3 separate regions of the Homo sapiens genome follow, and all the other regions are linked to region 3. The links are contacts of gene promoters, found by promoter capture Hi-C in blood cells and fetal thymus (Javierre and others, 2016). All regions are on one chromosome and are shown on one strand. The core of a region is centred on a gene start or on the middle of the fragment in contact, and the rest is flanking DNA. Distances in the headings are between cores, read along the strand shown. Region 1 overlaps CCDC142 (coiled-coil domain containing 142). Region 2 holds the start of SLC4A5 (solute carrier family 4 member 5). Region 3 holds the start of DUSP11 (dual specificity phosphatase 11).

What was found. Contacts are between HindIII fragments. The CHiCAGO score rates a contact against its expected background, and 5 or more counts as called.
Region 1: a fragment that was not itself captured here is called in contact with the fragment with the promoter of DUSP11 in region 3 in 1 of 17 cell types (non-activated CD4 T cells); the score reaches 5.5 in non-activated CD4 T cells.
Region 2: a contact is called between a fragment that was not itself captured here and the fragment with the promoter of DUSP11 in region 3, in 4 of 17 cell types (naive CD8 T cells, non-activated CD4 T cells, M0 macrophages and 1 more). The highest score is 6.4, in naive CD8 T cells.

What each region holds. Positions count from the first base shown.
Region 1 is chr2:74,476,155-74,480,047 of GRCh38, reverse strand. The region is part of intron 5 of CCDC142 (coiled-coil domain containing 142); the gene reads left to right. Among named protein-coding and RNA genes, the nearest start is that of CCDC142, 4.9 kb to the left of the region's middle. The HindIII fragment of the contact is 6,387 bases long and covers 1-3,893 here.
Region 2 is chr2:74,342,065-74,346,280 of GRCh38, reverse strand. SLC4A5 (solute carrier family 4 member 5) reads left to right here and starts at 2,865. Exons shown (of 31, transcript NM_133478.3): 1 at 2,865-2,925; 2 at 3,747-3,823. The HindIII fragment of the contact is 204 bases long and covers 1,190-1,393 here.
Region 3 is chr2:73,777,850-73,781,597 of GRCh38, reverse strand. DUSP11 (dual specificity phosphatase 11) reads left to right here and starts at 1,495. Exons shown (of 9, transcript NM_003584.3): 1 at 1,495-1,724; 2 at 3,222-3,297. The coding sequence starts at 1,624. RefSeq lists enhancers at 1,524-1,593, 1,674-1,723, 1,854-2,003. The HindIII fragment of the contact is 6,659 bases long and covers 1-1,827 here.

The sequences.
Region 1 (3,893 bases), core at 1,162-3,661, 700 kb before region 3:
TGAGTTGGATTACTCCTATGAAGAAAAACTTGCCTTCATTAATGATTTGGTTACTCTTAGGTATATTTTAGAGAGAAAATTCAGGATAAATGATTGCATCTTTCTCTTTACTTACCAGTTATCGGCACATTTCTCCTCTCTTAAAAGTTTAATTTGTATTTTTATTAATGCTTTGGGAGGCCAAGGCAAGAGCATTGCTTGAGGCCAGGAGTTCGAGACCACCAGGGGCAACATAGCGAGACCACCCTAGGCAACACAGACTCCCATCTCTCCAAAAATTAAAAAATTTAGCTGAGCATGGTGGCATGCGCCTGTACTCCCAGCTACTTGGGAGGCTGAGGCAAGAGGATCGTTTGAGCCCAGGAGGTCAAGGCTGCAGTAAGCTGTGATAGCCACTGCATTCCAGCCAGCCTAGGCAATACAGTGAGAGACCCTGTCTCAAAAAATAAAATAGTGCATGTCTATAGTTTAAAAAGTGAAATAGAATATTATTTTATAAAACTAATGAAAAAACAGCACTTTGTTTGCCCTCACTCACCTCTGATTTCTATTTCACAGTAGTAACCTTCATCCATGTTTGCCTGTTTCTCCTAACATTTTCTTATATGTTTATGAATAAAGCCATTATACTTTTTCTTCCCCATTTTGCACATTTATCTATTCCTATGTGGAAGATGTCTGGTTTTTTGTTTTCCTGCTCAGTTTTCTCCTCTTTGCCCCGAATAGGGGTGTGGCTGTAGAGTTCAGTCCTTAACTCTCTGCTTTTCTCTCAGTATTCCTGCTTACCCACAGTGTCTTGCTGCTGTGAACTCCCGGGTTCAGTCTTTCTGGCTCCCAGAGTTCTTTTTTTTTTTCTAAGATGGGGTCTCACTGTCACCCAGGCTGGAGTGCAGTTATGTGATCTTGGCTCACTGCAACCTCCACCTCCTGGGCTCAAGCAATCCTCCCACCTCAGCCTCCTGAGTAGCTGGAACCACAGGTGGAAGCCACAATGCCCAGCTACTTTTTTTTTTTTTTTTTTTGAGAAGGTGTCTCACTCTGTCACCCAGGCTGGAGTGCAGTGGCGTGATCTCTACTCACTGCAACCTCCACCTCTCAGGTTCAAGTGATTCTCCTGCCTCAGCCTCCTGAGTGGCTGGGATTACAGGCGCCTGCCACCACGCCCAGCTAGTTTTTGTATTTTTAGTAGAGATGGGTTTCACCATGTTGGCCAGGCTGGTCTGGAACCCTTGACCTCAGGTGATCCACCCACCTCAGCCTCCCAAAGTGCTGGGATTATAGGTGTGAGCCACCACACCCGGCCAATGCCCAGCTACTTAAAAAAATTTTTTTTTTTGTAGAGACAAGGTTTTGCCATGTTGCCCAGGCTGGTCTTGAACCCTTTTTAAAAATCTTTTTAAAAAACTTTTTTGGGAGGCCAAGGTGGGTGGATCGCCTGAGGTCAGGAGTTCAAGACCAGCCTGCCCAACGTGGTGAAACCCCGTCTCTACTAAAAATACAAAAAAGTAGCCGGTATGGTGGCAGGTGCCTGTAATCCTAGCTACTTCTGAGGCTGAGGCAGGAGAATCGCTTGAACCTAGGAGGCGGAAGTTGCAGTGAGCCGAGATAGCGCCATTGCACTCCAGCCTGGGCAACAAGAACAAAAATTCTGTCTCAAAAAAAAAACAGAAAACAAAAAAATTTTTTGTCCAGGTGCAGTGGCTCACACCTGTAATCCCAGCACTTTGGGAAACCGAGGCAGGTGGATCATCTGAGGTTAGGAGATCAAGACCGGCCTGGCCAACATGGTGAAACCCTGTCTCTTCTAAAAATACAAAAATTAGCTGGACATTGTGGTGTACACCTGTAATCCCAGCTACTCGGGAGGCTGAGGCAGGAGAATCACTTGAATCCGGGAGGCGGAGGTTCCAGTGAGTCGAGAGCGTGCCATTGCATTCCAGCCTGGGCAACAGAGTGAGACTCAAAAAAAAAAAAGTATATATATATATTTTATTTATATTATATCTATATATATTTTATTTATATTATATCTATTTATATATATATATATTTTTTTTTTAATTAGAAGTTTGGCTCGTGACATAGCCCTCAGGAGATCTGAGAACATGTGCCCTGTTCTTGAACTCTTGAGCTCAAGCAATCCACCGCCTTGGCCTCCCAAAGTTCTGGGATTACAGGCATGAGCCTCCACACCCAGCCTGGCTCCCAGAGTTCTAGTTAAACATCTGCATTTGCCTGTTGGGCATTTCTACCTCAGTTTACTGCTGTCTACTTAAACTCAACATGCCCCAGAGCAGGCTCATCATGAGTACTGCACACAGTGACGGTCATAGAGCCCTGAGGAAGGAAGGCTATAGTGGGCATGTGGTTAAAGAACGCTCCATACATGGCCTATGGCTGGAGATGGTGGCTGGGAAGCCTCAGAGGAGTGGCTGGGGTTACTGGAAGTGGGCAGTTTGTAGATCCTTGTGGGGGTAGCAGAGAGGTGGCCTTACCAGAGCAGAGGTTCCTTTTGTGGGTATGTTCACTGGGGTTGGGTGTGGGGTAGGGTAGTAAGCAATTTGGCATCAAATTGTGGAGGGCATGAACACCAGCCCCAACAATTTGCGCTTTACCTCATAAGTGAGGGGGTGACATTTTAAGAGCAGAAGGGTGTAATCCCAGCATTTCGGGAGGCCGAGATGGGTGGATAACTTGAGGTCAGGAGTTTGTGACCAGCCTGGCCAACATGGTAAAACCCCATCTCTACTAAAAATACAAAAATTAGCCAGGCATGGTGACGGGTGCCTGTAATCCCAGCTGCTCAGAGGCTGAGGCATGAGAATCGGTTGAACCCAGGAGGCAGAGGTTGCAGTGATCTGAGATTGCGCAACTGCACTCCAGCCTGGGCAATAAGAGCGAAACTTGGTCTCAAAAAAAAAAAAAGAGGCATTGTGAGTTTTCTTCCTGTTTGGACTATAAGATCCCAGTGGGTGGGGGAGAGACTGTCACACACTCTGCACCTTGTATTCCCTCAGTGTTGAGTACAGAGGCTCCTAACAAAAGTCCGTTGACAAAAGGGCAATTTCCTTGACATAAATAAGGGAGGAGAAGGGGGCTTGCATTTACTGGAGAAGAGAGGAAGATTTTGGATTTAGACAGGTTGTCAGATGTGCCAGGAGCCATATGGGCTCCACTCCATGTCTGGCCGCCCCCAGGTCTATCCTGTCTTCAGGCTCCCTGGCATCTACCATTTCTTTACAGAGCAGCTGCCATTAACCACATTTACTGGGGTTCCTCTCCCTCAAGATGGGCTGTAGAGCAGAAACCAGCTTTATTGCTGTGTTCTCTCCCTCCAAAAACAACCTATCAAACCAAAGAAACAAACCCAGCATATAGGCCTTTTCTTGCTTTATGGGTTATATTGCTCTGGAGTGGGCTGTGAAGAATAATAATATATAATAATGCCTTTCAATGTAAGGACATTCCAAAACTTCCTGAGTCTCAGAACATTCAAATAGTCATTGCTTCTGGTTTACATACAGTTCTTGTCTTCCTTTTGTAGGTGATAACCAAAAGATCATTGTAGGCTGGGTGTAGTGGCTTAGTGGCTCACATCTGTAATCCCAGCACTTTGGCAGGCAGAGGCAGGCCGATCACCTGAGATCAGGAGTTTGAGACCAGCCTGACCAACATGGCAAAACCTTGTCTTTACTAAAAATACAAAAATTAGCTGGGTGTGGTGGTGCACTCCTGTAGTCCCACCTACTTGGGAGCCTGAGGCAGGAGAATCACTTGAACCCGGGAGGCAGAGGTTGCAGTGAGCCGAGATCACGCCACTGCACTCCAGTCTGGGCGACACAGCAAGACTCTGCCTCAAAAATAAAAGGTCGTTGTAATTCCCCTTTCTTCCC
Region 2 (4,216 bases), core at 42-2,541, 560 kb before region 3:
GCCAGTGCACTCCAGCCTGGGTGATAGAGTGAGACTCCATCTCAAAAATAAATAAATAAATAAATAAATAGAAAAAAGAAACACATCAATAGAAACATAGATATGAATAGGAAATTCACAAAAAATACACTTACCAAGTTAAATCAACCTTAAGTAAAAAATTCGTTCAAGATTGTAAAGTGAACTGTTAACATTTACTTCTCTTTCCTCCCTAAGTCCAACTGGAACTACATTTTTTAAATGAAAAAAAGTAAAGTATGCAACCTCATGAGAGAACTTGAAAAAAAAAAAGTAAAAAGGAAAAATATCCAAAGCAAAAAAAAAAAAAAAAAAAAAGCATTCCAAAGCAGTGCTGGAATACGAGGAGGGGTTTACAGTATACTTCTTTGGACCTGACGCCTAGCACTTTTCCCTTCTGAGAGAAAATCTGCCATCCCCACTTTAGTCGCCTGGTTCATGTGGGAAACTGAGGCTTAGAGACAGCAGAGCTGGGGAGTGGCAGCAGGATATTGTGGCAGGTGGTGGCAGTCGGGGACTTCAGGCTGTGGTCTCACACCGCCACACTGCCTTTCCCTTTTCTCACAGAGAACATTCAAATGGCTGTCTTTCTCTGGCAAGGTAGAAAGCCTCTCAAATAAGTAAGGAACATGCTTTGGTTAACAGCTAACGAGGCATTAGGTCTGGACAGGGAGACAAGCAGTGCAGCAGCCAAATCCCAGTGGACACTAGACACGAGGAAGAAAGCACGGTGCTGCCAGGGCAGGTCCTCCTCCCTCCTTCCTCCTTCCTCCATTAGGAGGATTCCTGAGCCTGCAAACCTGTTCCCTTTGTGCATCCTGGAGGGACAGCCCCTGCCCCATACCTTCCAATACCCTCACCAAACCAGATGAAGCTCACCCTCAAATTCCTGTGTGAAGTGAGAGACAAAAAAACCCCAAACCTGAAGTGTCTGAAATAAATGTCCAAATTATTTGAACAAAACCTGGGTAGGTAGAAACCAAAGGGTTTCACTTGAATGCTTGGCAGTAACGTCTCAACTGGTCTTTCCACCTGTGCTACAATCCACTGTGAAGTCCATTATTCCATTCTTGTACCAAGTCCCCTTCCACATTCCTTTCACTTCAGACATGTTTGCTGATGTTTACACCTCTCCATAGACTACCCAGCCTATCGTCGCATGCCCAAAGCTTTATTTCCCCAAACCTGCCCTGTGCCAGGGAAACTGCTCTCCAGTTCTCAGGATATTTATGCTATGTTCTCCCACCTCTTATGTCTATATTTTTTGTGGCTTCTTCCCTCTGCCTCAGATACCCCTTGGTAGTTCTACTGTTCTAAATCCTACCCCTATCCTATCCCTTCACTGCATCTCCAAGGCCATTTTCTCCACAAAGCTTTTCTTTAACACATGGGGCTGGTAGGTAAGCCATGAACATTTGTGGAACAAGGTAATCCTCCAAACAAGGGTGATTTTTCTTTCACTGAACCCTTCCCTCCCTTTGTGCTTCTTTTTGGAGCCTCACACTCTTCTGAATTTGTTGAATCCCCAACCAGCTGGAAATTCCCTAAGGCCCGAAACTGTTTCTGGCCTAGGCTGTGCTGATCTTCCTGGGACTAAGGGGTTTCCTGGGTCACAGATCTTCTGTGCTAAAACCAGGAAAGCCTCTGGTGACCCAGCATGTGTTGATCTCCCTAGTCTTGCCTGTCTTTGATTCCATGGATTATTAACAGAAACTATAATGTTGGGTTAATGTGTTGGCTTGGGCATGGCCTCCGAAACATGTTTTTTACATGTCTGCCACCAGCAGGCTCTAGATCCAGGAATGAGGCTTTTCCACTAAGGGAAAACTCCACGTGATCTAGGAAGAAAGTGAGGATATCCAACCAGATGATAAATTTCCTATCTGAAAGAGAAGGTCAACCCTGAAATAAGGAGGCTGAAGACCCTTAGAGAAGCCACAGAAGAGACTGGAAGAAGAGGGGTAGAGTTGCTTTTTTAATGGGGCTTCCAGCTCCTACTTTTCTTCCTGTCTGTAAGTCTCTGAGCTTCTGTTCCAGCTCTGTAAGGTTGGGGACGAGAATGCTCTCCCCACTGGACTGTTGAGAGTTCAATGAGGGGAAATGTGTGCATATACCAGGCCCCATGCTGGGTGCCCAGAGACGCTGCGCCTTCCTGGCATGCTTCTCTTCCCCATCGCTCAGCACCGCGTCCCTCACTCCCTCCACTCCCGATTCTCACTTCCTACTCACTGGCTTCTTCCTTCCCATCTTCCTCCAAACTTCCCATTTTCCACTATGTCTCTCTCACCGTATCTTTTTCACTTAAACAAAAATGGAATTCATAAAAACAGAGGCCAAAAGTCAGGATAAACCTGGAAAAATCACCAAGTACGCAAAGTTTTTCTTGCAAGGTTTGGTTTTTTCAAATGCCTTCTTTGTTTTCCTTGCCCATATCCTTCTTCGGAGAGTCAGGATTTGGGGTTTGCAGAGCTGTGTGGCAGTGGAATGTGGAATGTTCTCCTGAATCTCAGTCCCATGAAGAAAAGAGGCAAAAGTCCTGACATCTTTCCTGAGGATTGTCTGATTTAAAAGAGCTGATTCTCCCCAGGCAAATGACTTACCTTTGTTGTGCTGGGACAAGCTGAACAGGCAAGGAATAAACCTCCCTAGAACACACTGATTAGATTAGCCAGTGAGAACCACTGAAGACGCAGACATTAGATTAAAAAACAGAAAAATGAATGTTACTTTTACAGTGGCTATGAATAGACAAAGACTTTTTGGTTTGAAAATAGTTGGTGAGGCAATAGAGGAGGGGCTATGTTAATAGCAGAGATAGAAAAAACGAGAGGTGGATGGTTCCAACTGCAAGGTCCACCCTAAAGGAATTGGAGTCAGGGCCCAGGAGCCACAGGCCACTGCACTGGGGTAAGTAGAGTGGATTTTACATAAATAAAGTTACAGAGTGGTTGTAGGTTCTGGTTTGGAGATGTGAGTGAACCAACTGAATAGAATAGGCAGATTCCCCAGCCCACCAAGAGTCAGATGAGAATTTTATTGCTTTTTGCTAAAGGCCTGTACAAGACTTAGAGCAAAGATAAGGAGTAACCTGATTGTTGAAACTAATCTATAAGTATTCCAACATAGCAAAGGACAAGTAACGGAATGACGAGGTTTTCCTGTAGTAGTGTTGCGATTTTGTTCTGCTGTGTCCCCCTACTCCAGTTTCCTCTGTGAGGGGAGCGTGTAGTGTGTGCATATCTGTGGAATGTCAGACTTCTAAAGTCAGGGGCTGAGACCTATATCTAGTTAGACCTCTGTGCATATTCTTGAGCCATGGGAGTCTCAGTGGTTGATAGTACTTCACACTTCTTCCAGTTCAATAAGGGTTACCTATGGTGTCTCCTCTGAGTCTCCTAGGAGTCCAGAAAACATGAGACTTGTATAAGAATCCACACTTCAACTAAGCTTTCTGGCCCAAAGAAGGCATTGTTACCAAGGATCTGTTTCTTGAGGTCTTTAGGGAGTGAGAGGGAAGGAACGCATGAGGAACCAGAGCTAGTCCCCATCTCTCTCCCTAGAAGTGACAGACTGCATAGCTCTTATGTATCAGGAGTCCTGGAGATCAGCTGGCTTTCCTTAAAAAAGGGTCATCCAGCCGTGATGAAATCCTGACTTAGAAACCCAGTGCCCTTAGCTTTGTGGGCTTCTGTCCCTGAGAAATGGTGTTTTACCCTCCCTCCAAGCAGGCATCCCAGGATTTGGAATTCAGCTGTGAGCTCATGAGCTGATGGATGTTTCCAGGAGTACCCTGAAGACCACCCAGGTATGCTCTCCCCACCTCCTTTATTTTGGATGGACCAGTCTAAGGAGAGTCATCTTTTCCCACACCATTGGTGGCACTCAGTGAGTGGCTTGTTGCTTGACTGAATGCCTGCCCACACCCTCTCCAGTCAAGTTTATCTTGAGTAACTAAACACTTAGCAATGGAGACACTCATACATCTCCACTGCACTAGAAGTAGGGATGGTGGCCATGCCAACAAAGGAGATAACTTTAGCACAAAGGATGTCACAAGAAACAGATAGTAGAGTGTGTTCTCCAGTGTTATCATTTCCCAAACCAGAATCAACTGGTCTTGGGTTTCCTTCCCTCATCCTTCATCTGTAGAAAACTTTGTTTCTTGAGCTACTTCAGATCTACTTCCCTATCTTAAGAG
Region 3 (3,748 bases), core at 246-2,745:
TGTGGAAATTTTCAGAATTGTAAATGTTTATGTATTTAAAACTGGTTGGAAAAGTACTGTCTCAAAAATGTTAATAAAGCTAGCAGTCTAGCTTTATTAATATTCATTTATTCAATAGCTCTGACCTTTCTTATCCTTGGTTTACCCAGCTCTGAAATGGTTGCAAAGATTACTAAAAATATATGTAAGTTACTTTCATAAATTAGAAACTAAGAAGTAAAAATTACTTTCAAAAATCTGCCATTGGCCAGGTGCGGTGGCTCAAGCCTGTAATCCCAGCACTTTCGGAGGTCGAGGAGTGCTGATCATGAGGTCAAGACATCGAGACCATCCTGGCCAACATGGAGAAACCCTGTCTCTACTAAAATACAAAAAATTGGCTGGGAGTCGTGGCATGCACCTGTAGTCCCAGCTACTCAGGAGGTTGAGGCAGGGAGAATTGCTTGAACCCGGGAGGCGGAGGTTGCAGTGAGCTGAGATGGCACCACTGCACTCCAGCCTGGTGGCAGAGTGAGACTGGGTCTCAAAAAAAAAAAAAAAAAGTCTGCAATCATAATTACTTACAGTTTAATCTGGAATTTAGTACTCTATTCTATTTTCAAAGCTGCTATAGGGTATGCTGTCCTTTGTAGTTCCACTTTTAGCAGAATTGAACGTTTTTCTAACGGGTACAGATCTTTATGCTTGAGACTGTGTGGAAACCTTGGACTTGAGCTCCACTCTCAGTTATTTTTTGTATTTGCTAAAACTTAAATACATTCTGTCCACCTCTAGCATGATACCTGGTATGTGATAGGAACCCAATAAAAGTTTGGCTTTGATGGGAGTGTATGTTTCTACATTATTTTTGGAGGGTAATTAGGTAGTATCTTTCCAAATTTTAAGTTTGTATGTGTTTCATTCCAGACATTCTACTTCTAGGAATTTAGATATAGTTGTATATATGTATAAGGATGTTCACATTGCAGCATTGTCTGTAACAAGATTTGAAAAGAACCTGAAAACAACTAAAGGTCCATTAATATTGAACTGGCTAAATACGTTATGGTACTTTTAATTATGTTACTCATAAGCAAGTAAATTGCCTATAGCCATTAAAAATAGAATCTATGTATGCATAAATTGACTGGGATAATCAGTGTTTAAGGTATACTGTAGAATATGTACAGTTACTCCTTTTGTATAAAAATAGAGGATATACATATATGTGAAAGTAAATATGTATACAAAATATGCAAAATGTGAATGTAAGCGCTGGTAAATATCTAGAAGAACACACAAGGAACCGGGGCGTGGGGCGGATCGGGCAGAGGGACTTCCCTGTGCCTCACTGTTTGAATTCTGAAGGGTGCATACACGCCCTTATTGACCTGTGCTACTGGCCTCTGGCTAAAGAGGGCGCTGTAGCCACCAAAGTCCTGTTTACAGATCAGGAGTCTCAGTAAGCCAGCGTGGCTACGCCATCACGACCGGCGGTGGCACATGCGCAATAGCGAGACGCTGGAGCGCGGCGTAGGTGGCTGCCGAGTCTTTTCCTGTTTAGGGTCTTATCCTGGCATTGAGGGCGCCGGACTGGCGCTTTTGGCCGACTTGGCATTGGGTGGGCGGCTTCTTGGGACCCACATGAGCCAGTGGCATCATCCCCGCAGTGGCTGGGGCCGGAGACGCGACTTTTCAGGACGCTCCTCAGCCAAGAAGAAGGGCGGAAACCACATCCCCGAAAGGTAGTATGTCTTGGTCCCTTGGCGTGGCCTTTCCAGCTCGTGGCTTCTGGGTCTGGGCTTCATCGTTTGTGGTCTCTGCCTCTCGCCGTTGCCATCGCAAGCTTGACTTGTCCGCCGCTTGCTTTGAGGCTTTGACCCTCTGCGCCACCCGCTGTAGCTGAAAGGGGCGATGTCTGTGATGTCCTGTGATTTCTCCATATTCTTGTAAAAGGGAGGTTCTGGCCATTGCTCTTAGGTAAAATACGGAAGGATTGCTTTAAGGTGGGACTGTTACTGTTGGGGACACTCCTTAATTCCCAAAATGGAACCTCCTCAATTCCTTGTTACGTTGGCACGGAAAGTGTAATGGTTTGAGTTAGGAACCCAGCAGTAGTAGCGCCCTGAGATCTCACATGGAAAGTTGGTTTGTATTGTTTCCAGAAATCACAAAGAGCATACTTTGTTACTTCCTAACAGGCCTCATTTGAAAGATAACTCCTTTATACGTACAAATGATTAATTTTGAGACTTTGCACGTAGGTGCATTGAACTGTTTTTACTCCTTGAGACCATCCTCCACCATCTCATACCTCAATAAATCCTCTTCATTTTATCTACTATCTTTTGACTGTCACTTTCTGTCAGTACCCTAATACAGGTCTTGCCTGACTTATTGCAGTGGGGTTCTAATTAGTGAATCTCCTGTTTGTTTTCTTCCAATCCGTTTTTTTGTTTTTGTTTTTGGGATGGATTTTTGCTCTTCTCCGCCAGGCTGGAGTGCAATGGTCCAATCTCGGCTCACTGCAACCTCCGCCTCCCGGATTCAAGCGATTCTCCTCCCTCAGCCGCCCAAGTTGCTGGGATTACAGGCGCCCGCCACCACACCCGGCTAATTTTTTTTGTATTTTTAGTAGAGATGGGGTTTCACCATGTGGGTCAGGCTGGTCTCGAACTCCTGACCTCAGGTGATCCACCTGCCTCAGCCTCCCAAATTGCCGGGATTAACAGACGTGAGCCACCGCGCCCGGCCAGTTCCTAGCATTATTAAGTGAAGTTCACAGTCCCTCTTCTAGCAGGTTTTCTCTTAAAATATGAACTTGAAGTTTCCTACTAATTGAACTTTATGGCATCAGTCGTATGAAAACTAAAAGCGTGAAGTGAAATAATTGAATTTAAATTATTTCAGTGAATATGTTTGTATTAATGGCACTTTAGTATCTGGTACTGGGCCAAGTTTAACAGGGATACAGAAGTTCTGGGTATCTCCGGTTTTATATAGGCCTTATTTGAGTTGTACTGTTGTGTTGGCTTGTGTTCGTTTTTATGATGGGGAAACAGGAGAGAAGGACGGTATAGGTCGTTACTTGGTGGGGTTTAATAAGTGGAGTGGCGAAATGCAAAGCAGAGAGGAGAGAGGACATGTTGTGCGGGCTATGATTCCCATTTTCAAAAAGTCTTATTTTGTGCAAGGAAACAAGGCTAACATACAATTTGGCTAACAAAAAATATATCTAATAGGTGGAAAGACTATCTCCCAGTTGGACAGCGGATGCCTGGGACTCGTTTCATTGCTTTCAAAGTTCCTTTGCAAAAGGTAAGCAAAAGTTAATTCAGTATTCTTTCAGGCATCTGAGTTCACCATGCAGAACACTGCTCTCCACTCTATCACATTCCATTTTCTCTTTTTATAGCAAATACTTTGTAATGACCCCTTTACTATCCTGAAATGAAGTTCATAGGTACATACAACCTACTTCATATTTTAAACAAAAATACCAATTAACACCCTAACTATAATATAAAAAATAAAATAAAAGTAATTTATAATAAAATAATATTTATTTCAATATATAAATGTTTGGACATGACTACATTAAAAGACATAGAGTAATAGTTGCCTGCGCCATGAATTCAAGAATTACAAATGTAGACTGATCTAGGTGGGTTGTATTGCTTTAGTGGTAGGAGTTTCTGTAATAGATTTCCAAATATAACAAAGTATAATCTTCATTTGGTTGATAAGGTGATTATTATCCTGGAAAATT